Linked DNA regions of Homo sapiens: regions 1 and 3 are each linked to region 2. Evidence: promoter capture Hi-C in human tissues and cell types (Jung and others, 2019). All regions are on one chromosome and are shown on one strand. The core of a region is centred on a gene start or on the middle of the fragment in contact, and the rest is flanking DNA. Distances in the headings are between cores, read along the strand shown.

Region 1 (3,248 bases), core at 112-2,611, 510 kb before region 2:
ATCTCTGAGACATAGTTGACCTAAATCCAGTTGGCCAGAAACAGGGGTTGTCTTTTGAGGATTTTCAGTCCTCAATTAGCATATTTTAGCATCATCTCCATTTTCTTTCCTTAAATCCCATTTCCTTCCTTTACATCATTGCAATCTATCTCAAAGGTTACACTTAGGAGACAGTTCATTTTCTTTCAAATTTTGGTGATTCTTTTGCCCCATTATGTCTCCTTTTGCATCTTTGAGGTATGTACTTAAGATACCCAGCTATTTCAGCTTCTGATAAACAAGTTCTAAAATACAAAGTGAGCTTCCTATTCACATTGGAAATATTCCACAGATTAAAAATTAACTATTATTCTAAAGGCTAAAATCTATACACACAAAAATAAAGATTTCCAATGTAAATTTTACTATTTTATTTGTGAAAAAACTACAAGCAGAATTCATAAATAGACATTTCTATTTAAAGCAGGAAAATGATAAAGTGGCTTCTAATAACATAGTCGTGCACATGCCAGTAACAGGAATATATTAACATCTTTTATTTGCTAGACAAAGAGCAGTGTCCAATATAAATTTCCCCCAAAACATTTAAGACCTGTGAATTTTTGACCAGTTCACAAAACCACCAACTGACACTTTAGCATGAAGAAAAAAACAAACCTAACAGACTGTCAGCTCTAAAGACATTACAGAGCAGAAACTTCCAAAAGCGTTATACAAGCTGTCTTTCTGGGCAAATGAAAAATATAGCTCGTATAATACATTAACAAAAATTCACAAGATAAGATTGTTTTGACATACTTAACAAGCATTCTCTATTTGTCTCCAACAAACAAAGCTAAGGAAATAATGTAACCATCTTTACACAGTAAATTAAGGTTACAAGTCATACACAAGAACAGAACTGCTTGCGCATTAAAAACTGTTCAGCTCCATTGTCATACTCTAAATGTTGGCTCTTAAACCATTTTCGGTTACATACAAGCAAAGGTTATTATATATTCAGCAATTAATAAATTTTCAATAATTTAAGATACGGTAGCTTAAAAAAGTAGACTGAGAATGGTCTTGATAAGGCAGGTGAAACATCTTAGTGGAACTAAACTCACAGAAGCTTCTGCCAATGTTTTTAAATATCCAGATTGAAACTGAAAGGTTTTGATTAGAATATTGTGTGGGTGTCAAGATGTCTTTTTTTTTGTAACTGCATGACTCAAGCAGAGCAAGTCAGGTAAGCTCTGTGTGCGCGCACACGCACGAGTGTGAAAGATTGCGTGGTATTAAAACAAATGGAAACTTGCAAGCGTAACACTGTGCTTTTTGTTTGTTTAACCTGCTTTCTGTGCCACTGAATACCAAGTATTTCTGGTCCTCTTTTAATGTATATCTTTATAATCTACACTAGTGTTTTTACACGCTGCCTACTAATTGTAGGGCATACTGCAGACACAGGAAGTTACAGGAATTCCATTTCCAGAATACATGCCTGAGGGATGTCATCAATTTCCAAAATTAAAAGTCTATAAAGTACCTACTACCTCACTACCCAACAGAATACACCACAGCAGCTAAAGGGCTGGCCCTGTAACATCTGATTGCTTAGATAACTCCCACTGTTAGCTGCGGTTTCTACAAAGATGGTAATTTCATGCCACTTGTTCTAAAGCAATCTTCTTCCCCTTCCTTCACCCCTCCCCATTCTTTAATTTATCACGGAGGCAAAACTGAAAAACCAAAACATTGGCATGAATGAATTAGCAGCCTATGAGTAGCTGGTTAATCAGCTTTTTCCACTAATCTATGGGGTCCAATCACTTTACATGAAACTAGTTTTTGAAAAAGTACACAGTGTGTCTGAACAAAGTGCATACCAACAGTTATTGGTTCAATAAGCAGTGCAACCTACATGAGTTTGGTGGCATTTAAGTTTTTTCAAAAAGTTAAAAACAGCAATTTCTTAAACCTCTGGAAAATAAATATGGCTGACTAATTTACCCTCCCTGAGACCCTTAATAAAAGGAATATTAAAACTTTAGAAGGAATGTCTTTGCAATATCCCACCAATATTAAAATGTGGATTTAAAATTCATAGTCAAATCACTATGTATTATATATTCTGATGCTTATAGAAAGCATCTGATTTCCTTTGGTTCATTAATAAATACTTTAAAAATGTATTTAAAAAGATAAGCAAAGCTTGCATCCCAGACACAAGCATTATTTTAAAAAGGGGGGAACATTGTCCATGCATTTGAGAATAGGACCACAGCAACAAATGGCACTGCTTTATAATCTATACCTTTGAGAAAAGAATTTAAATTATGGTACATTAGTGACTACAGAATAGTTTTAATGTAAATGTGAAAGGAACCTTTCCTGTTGGCTACTCAATTCAAGCTGTTAATTTTTTTATTTGTTGCCTCCACAGACAGAAATTACTGCTATTATTAAGCAAACCAGGTTTTTAACACCAAAATGTGGTGCTTCATTACAAATCAGGCTGCCCTCCCGTGAGTCCCTAAAGGTCAAATAAAGAGAGGTAACCTCAAATTCTCATGCTTGAAATGTCTCTGAAGTACTACAAACTCTGTATCTAAATGTAAAAGTCAAATAGAAGAGAGACCCCACATCCAAACAAAAGCAAAACAAAATTTTAAAAAATTATTTTAATAAGGAGAGGTGGAATCTTATTAGTGGTCTTTGATTATTTTTTTTTTTTTTTTTTTTGCAAGACAGTAAAAAGAGTGAAGAGAATGAAATAGAACAGTTTACTCAAGCTATCTTTATGTCCAGGAAGAAAAAAGATTACATGCTGCTCGCAGTAAGTACGAGCTTTCCCTGCAACTCTGGCTGCAGGCGCGCAAGCCGTTCACCACTGGAGTTCCTACCACAGCAGGGGATTGAGAAATGTCTCCAAACACTGAAAAGCTCCATGTCAGGACTGGATGTGTGGTTGATAACCTTTGTTCAGTAAAACAAATCATAGTAGGTTTTGAGAAGGAAAAAAAGAATGCTCACAACTGAATCGGTAGAGTGAAGGTTTATCAGACAAAGGGACATGAGGCAAACAAATTTTAATTACAGAAACCACCACTGCAATGTCATGTAGAAAGGAGAAACAAGGGACTAGCTTCCTGGATGGACCAAAAATACAGTTTATAGACTGTTTCAATCCTAAAACTAAGACAATTTCTAGATTTACCTCAGACATGAGTAGAGGTCTGGAAAATGGATGGAATTCAAGTTACAGA
Region 2 (3,136 bases), core at 251-2,750:
AACTAAATTTTAGATTATTTATAAAGCAACATGGAATCTTGTAGAAACTCAGGGACGGGCTGGGCGCGGTGGCTCATGCCTGTAATCCCAGCACTTTGGAAGAACGAGACGGGCGGATCACTTGAGGTCAGGTGTTCAAGACCAGCCTGGCCAACGTGGTGAAACCCCGTCTCTACTAAATATACAAAAATCAGCCGGGTGTGGTGGCGCAGCCTGTAATCCCAGCTACTTGGGAGGCTGAGGCAGGAGAATGGCTTGAACCCGGGAGGCGGAGGCTGCGGTGAGTTAAGATTGCACCATTGCACTCCTGCCTGGGCTACAGAGTGATCCAAAAAAAAAAAAAAAAAAAAAACTGAAAAACTCAGGGACGTTGTTATAACTTAACTAGTGTTCTTTGTTCTGTGGTGTGCTGAAAAGAGAGTTAATGGAGTCCTGGCTGTCAGTTCACCGTGAGTCATAAGAGGATGTGTCCTAATGTTTCAGATTTGTAACTGGGGATCCCCTGGAAGAATCGTCTGGAAATTACGACCTTCATCTGGCGATTGCAGCTGTTAAAGTCTCCAAAGAAGCCATTCTTACATTGTGTTGTGAAATTATTACTCTATCTCAAATCTGTGCCAGAAAGAAAATAAAATGTGTGTTTATGTGTATATTATAAGCTATGTTTTATTGAACTAATCATTACAGAACTTTTATTGGGCACCGACTGTGAGCCAGGCACTGTGCTAGTTTCTTTGAAGGCATTATTTAATTTAATGCTCACAAAACGCCTCTGTAGTGAGCAGTATTGTCATTCCCATTTTGCACGTAAGGAAGTTAAGGCTTAAGAAAGTTGTGCAGCTTCCTCAGGATCACCAAGCCAGTTAAGCACAGTGTCAGATTTCAAATCCAAACTTTGAAATTCATTCTCTAATTTCTTCAGACTACATGGATCGGTTCGGTCCAGTCTAGCTGTCCCAAGTTCTACTTTGGTGTTTTGAGTCTGAAACCCCAACTACTAATCACGTGTTACTTTTACTCGCTTTGCCTTATTTTGCATGTGTCCTTGTTGAATATGTCCTCCTCCAGGAAAAAGGGAGGTGGCAAGACAGAGGCGGCAATAGGGGTTTATTCAACAGATATTTATTGGGCACCACCACCCGCAGATCCCTGCACTGGGCAAACAGGACAGAGATGTTCCTGCCTGAAAGGATGTGTGGATAAGTGCACAAATGTGTGGATAGATGGATAAAATAAATAAGGAGGAAGCACATGGAATACATCAACAAATAAGTGAATCATGGTATGAGAGAATCAGCGGGAACAGTGGATGGCATGGGTGTGTGAGTGAATGGGGAAGTAAACGAACGAACGAACGAATGAATGAATGAAGTGGTTTTGAGTCTGAGCTACCAGAAGCCCGAGAGCCTGGCTGCGGGCGGGCGGAGGGGCGGCTACTCCACACAGTACGGTAGGCGCAGGCTGCTCCTCCTGTAACCCAGCTCTCACCGCCTCCCCCTCCTCTCCTCTCTCTCCTCCTCCTTCGCCGTCGCCGCCGCCGCCGGCCGCCCGCCGGCCGCCACGACCCCAGTCCCCGGCGGGCGGGCGGAGGAGGCGACCGCCGCGCGCTGCTGCACTCATCCTGCCGCCGCCGCGATGCGCAGAGGGGCCGAGCCGCCTGGGGGCCGCCGCCGCCGCCGCGCCGCACCATGAAGCTCCGCAGCAAGGCGGCGGCGCTGCTCTTGCTCGCGCTGGCCGCGCTGCTGCTGGCGCTGCTGTCCCTGCGCGCTGGCCGCGCTGAGCCCCCAGCGCTGCCCGCGCGCCCCGCGTCCGCCCCGCAGCGCCACCCCGCGCCTGTCCCCGCGCGCTGGCCGGGGCCGGGCGCCCTCCCCGGGGCCAGCCCGGGAGTTCGGAGGCGCCGGCCCCCGCGTCCGCGCCCCCGAGCGGGCCGCCGGGGCGCTGCGAGACTGGAGAAGTTGGCGAGGTGAGTCGTGGCAACCCCAGAATCCCATCTGCGGACCCGTGTCTCGCTCCCTACACCCGTGCCAAGTCCAAGGGAGGCTTTGCGCTGGAGAGACAGATTTCCAAGTTTCACCCACGGGCTGCCCACTTCTGTTTCTTAACCCGATAGAAAAGAAGACCCACCTTGGTGGAGTCCCCCTAACAGCTCGGTGTTGATAATCACGTACATTTTTTGAAGTGTCAAGGAAAGTGGTTTCGTACATTACATTTTTTAACTGTCAAGGCAAGGCGTATTTTTGCACTCTTGCAAACATGCACCCTTTGTTTAATTTGTCAAAAGCCATCACGGTGCAAGAATGTTTTATCTAATTCTCATGTTTCACTGGAGAATTTTACCGAAACCTTAGATATGGTTGAGTTGGAAAAGTTAGATGTTTACCAAGGACTGGCAGCCTCTCATTTAACCTCGAGTACCCCCATGCTTAGAACAGAAGGGACACTTGACCTAAGTTTATTAAAAAGAAGTTTTCTCCTTGAAAGGACTGATGCGTGGCACAGAAAAGACAGAGTGGGGGTTTCCAGATCCTCATTCTGTTTCAGGCTCGAGTGTGGTCAAAGGGTCCTCCTACAAGAAAAACAACTTAACCTTCGACCTTCTGTTTGATACTCTCTTTCCCTACACAAAGCCTAACACGCGGAGGCTTTTCATCAGAGAGCTTTATTTTTGGCCTCAGGGTTGCTGGAACGCCCCGCAGGTTAGGGATTTGAGTTCATTTCCTTTGTTGTGGAGGGCTTTTCAACAATCCCCTTGTCTTGTAGCGAGTCTGTTTCATCTGCCCTTTCAAAACTGTTGTTTCTAACTGCCATTGCAACGTCCTTGTTTGCTGGGCTCCTTAATTTCAACCTGAAAGGAGTTGAAAAATTATTTTTGACCATAATGACTAAATCTCTTTGGTGCCTTTACTGTAACTAAAAGACACGAAACCTCAAGAAGTAGCTGTGTCAGCCTTTGTTTCCCTTCTGTCTCAGTACAAATGGGTACTGACAAGTTTTAGGGGGAAAAAACCCCAACAATCTGTCGCTTTAAAGTACTTATAACACTTTACAGCCCTTTCTGGATGTATACAGTCTTTAAGGATATCTTTGTTAGGAAATTAATAGGATTTCCCCTCTTCTATACTGGAGTTTCTTGTAA
Region 3 (3,457 bases), core at 77-2,576, 620 kb after region 2:
CAACATGGTGAAACCCCATCTCTGCTAAAAATACAAAAAATTAGCCGGGTATGTTGGTACACACCTGTAATCCCAGCTACTCAGGAGGCTGAGGCAGGAGAATCGCTTGAACCTGGGAGGCGGAGATGCAGTGAGCTGAGATCGCATCACTGCACTCCAGCCTGGGTGACAGAACCAGATTCAGTATCAAAATAAATAAATGAAATGAAATAAAATAAAATAAAACAAGTCATTAGAAAATGAAGCTCCTTGAATTGCTGCTAGCTTGTAGACCAAATGCAACCGTTTTCTTAGAGCTGTGCTATTAAGCAAAGAGAAACAACAGTGGGCTAAGTGAGAAAAAAATAAGGCACTACTTACACATGTGCATCTTGATTTGGTTGCTCATGATGGAGAATCAAGTAAAGGGTCACAATGAAGAATCATGGCATGGAATCAGGTATAAAACCTTTTGTTTGGGGTAATAATTATGCATTCAGTCAAAACTATAACTTGGTTGCAGTCAAAATGATAGGTTTTTATTTTAAAAAGATTCCATTTCCATAATGGTGTTCTCTGGCATCTAAATAATTGCTTTCCTAAAAGATGGGAACTGTTAGGTGGAGCTGAGAAAAGATACTGAGTTCTCCATAAGTTAAGGCCACCAACAACTAAAATTATCTTCTCCAATATCCATTGATTCTATTTAACATTTATCTTTCTGAGTTTTCTTTTACTATAGCGGTTTCCCTTCAACTCCCTCCCTTGCCTTACCCATAAGGCTGCGTGGTCAGAATTCCTATTTTATGGTATGCTATGTTCTGAGACTGGCAGCTCATGAAACCAGGCAGCTGTAAGAAATGACAAATTTCAACAGTACAGCTATAGAGAAGGCAGCTCGGTCAAGGATGTTAAATGGTCAGATGGAAAGCAAATCCCCCAGAGGCCAGGTATTTCTAAAGATCAGCTGTGTGGCATCTTACAGAAAATCCTAGAGCCTGGTATCATTGAGACTGCAGCCCTCCTCTCTCAGTTGAAACGAATGATCAAGACGTGGTACCAGAGCACCACCTGCTGGCTCACAGGTGACAGTGTCTTACACAAAATACTTTCTACAAGATGGTCATTTTGATCTGTTAAGTAAGAATTTGCAAGAGACAGGTGTGAAAACACAGTTGTGGTTTTGCACTTCTGGGGCTGTGTATATGAATACTGTTGGTCAGAGAATATTATACTATCATGGATAGTAGTTTTGTTGTTTTGAATAAAACAATTTTATCTCAATGCTTTCTTGATTTTAACTTAAAAATTTTAACATTTTACTAACATAAAATGTCATGAAGTACTTTGGTAACCCAGTCCATTTAAAAGAAATTAAACTAGTTTTAGATACTAGTGTTTCCTTTATAAGCTAAACCTATACTTGTTTTAATGGTTCCCTCAAATTTTCTCTATTAGGTGCTACCTTTACAAGCAAATGTATAAGTGGTCCTTTATTTACTTGAAGATTCTGAGGTCATAAATCTGACGTAAGTTCCATTTACAAATGATGAGTGCGTTAAACATCTGGGAATGCATAACCAAAGTCTAGCATTACACATGAATATTTTTAAACCTCAAGGAAGTATGATTTCATTCTTTAAATACCAGGCTTCAAAAAAAGTATGATTTCTTCACTTTAAATCATTTCTTTATCCGTAAAGCTTTAATGAAAGTATTATTCCCATTGCTGTCTACTTGGCCTTATCCAATGAACAATAAAAAATTCTTCTTTTGCTTTGTTTGGTAGTTTTTGACTATAGAGGACATCATCTAATGCTTTTCCCTATGTACTTTGCAAGGTCTTAAATGACAATACAAGTACGTTTCCAAAAATGTAACACAGCATTTATTGTGTCTGAACTCAACTCTCTCAGTGCAACCATGAACGTGCCTTGAGAAACTTGGTAAAAGCTTTGAACTTTTTTGGGGCAGAAAGGTATCACAAACTGAAATTAAACCTAGAATTAAGGCTTTTATACAAAATGTATACAAAGATCAAGTTCTGCTCTCTGACACATAGGAAAGAAAGCAAGAGTGGGGAGGGGGAGAGCCTAAACAGATGTGTTTTTGTATCATGCAGTCGACTTCTGCATCTGAAACGTAACTCAGCGAAACAGAAACCCAGCCATGTGACTCCTTTTCTGTAGAGAATAGAGTTGAACACAGTATCCCGAAGTCACAGGGCATGTGCTAGACATTCACTTATTCATATTTCTGCCTTCTTTATAAACAGAAATTAATATTACACTGCTGTGTATGTGTGTCTGCTTTTCTTGAGTACTTTATTATTCTCTCCAGATGCCCACCTGATGTACCTCATTCTCACAATTAAAACAGTTATATGGTTAAACACACAGGAATAGACTTAGTTAGCATGTGGTGTAACAAATGAACTCACATAAAATTTACATGATTTAATTAGCTGATAATGGGTCATTAATTGAGGGACTGAAGAAAGGAAACATATTCTCTTGGACACATAAAGGCGCCATTCAGGAAGAATAGATTTGTTTTTACTCAGCCCTTCTCAGGAGAACCACCTGTGCAAATACGGGGCTCAAGTCAGATGACAAGCAGGGTTTTTATGGGACCAGGAAGATTTTCATCTCCATGACAACCTTCCTGGTTCCAAACAGAGAATGTTATTTTTCTGGACTCCTCATCTCAGCCACACCAGTGGACTCAATTCGGCCCTGACATGCATCTGAACACTCTTTCTTGGACAGCCATTATTAACCTGGGCTGCTTCTGACAAATCATTTGGTTGGTGATTACAGATCTGACATATTTTGTAATGACTCCATTTTCTGAGGGCTTCATTTTCAAGAAGTGAAATAATGCTGTGACTTAACACCTCCCTGCAACCACAAGCCACTTTCCCATCTCCAAAGTATACCACTTTTTATTAAGGAGGTCTTATACCCACATAAGTCACTAGCTTGTATATATAAAGATAACTGCGTTAGTATCATTTAAGTGCATGTATATGATCTAATTTTTCATTATATTAATTAACAACATAATTGATTGACCTGTGGGGAAATACACAAAAAGGCTTCCTGGGAAATTCTCTCCAAGTAAGTATGGAAAAAGCAAAACAACAATGTTTTCATATGAATGTGCTTGTGATAGGAAAAGGATAGTCTCTGTAGCAACTCCAGCAAGTGCCCTTGGCTCTTTGGAAATGATATTCTATCTAGTTTTTTATTTATAGCCAAATCCCGTTCCTAGTCTAAGATAGTGTGACACCCATGGGAGGTGGCTTGGAATTTGAGAGTATGAGATTACGAAGCTGAAGGCAAAGATTTTGCTTTTTAATTAAGAACTAAACTATACTTTTATACACGATGACATTTTATGTAACTGGTTACCCACGAATAATCATTTGGGAGCACTTCTGATATGAAATTACCCTCTGATTGAGCCCTTTGAGAAA

Evidence for each region. Contacts are between HindIII fragments. The study calls those that stand out against the background at their distance.
Region 1: a fragment that was not itself captured here is called in contact with the fragment with the promoter of GXYLT2 in region 2 in 1 of the 25 tissues and cell types used here (IMR-90 fibroblasts).
Region 3: a contact is called between a fragment that was not itself captured here and the fragment with the promoter of GXYLT2 in region 2, in 1 of the 25 tissues and cell types used here (dorsolateral prefrontal cortex).

The regions. Positions count from the first base shown.
Region 1 is chr3:72,374,211-72,377,458 of GRCh38, forward strand. RYBP (RING1 and YY1 binding protein) reads right to left here. Exons shown (of 4, transcript NM_012234.7): 4 at 387-3,248. Among named protein-coding and RNA genes, the nearest start is that of RYBP, 71 kb to the right of the region's middle. The HindIII fragment of the contact is 4,095 bases long and covers 1-3,248 here.
Region 2 is chr3:72,886,546-72,889,681 of GRCh38, forward strand. GXYLT2 (glucoside xylosyltransferase 2) reads left to right here and starts at 1,501. Exons shown (of 7, transcript NM_001080393.2): 1 at 1,501-1,963. The coding sequence starts at 1,689. RefSeq lists silencers at 1,541-1,770, 1,871-2,000. The HindIII fragment of the contact is 12,200 bases long and covers 1-3,136 here.
Region 3 is chr3:73,501,827-73,505,283 of GRCh38, forward strand. All of the region lies in intron 3 of PDZRN3 (PDZ domain containing ring finger 3), which reads right to left. Among named protein-coding and RNA genes, the nearest start is that of PDZRN3-AS1, 120 kb to the right of the region's middle. RefSeq lists an enhancer at 841-910. The HindIII fragment of the contact is 3,053 bases long and covers 1-2,853 here.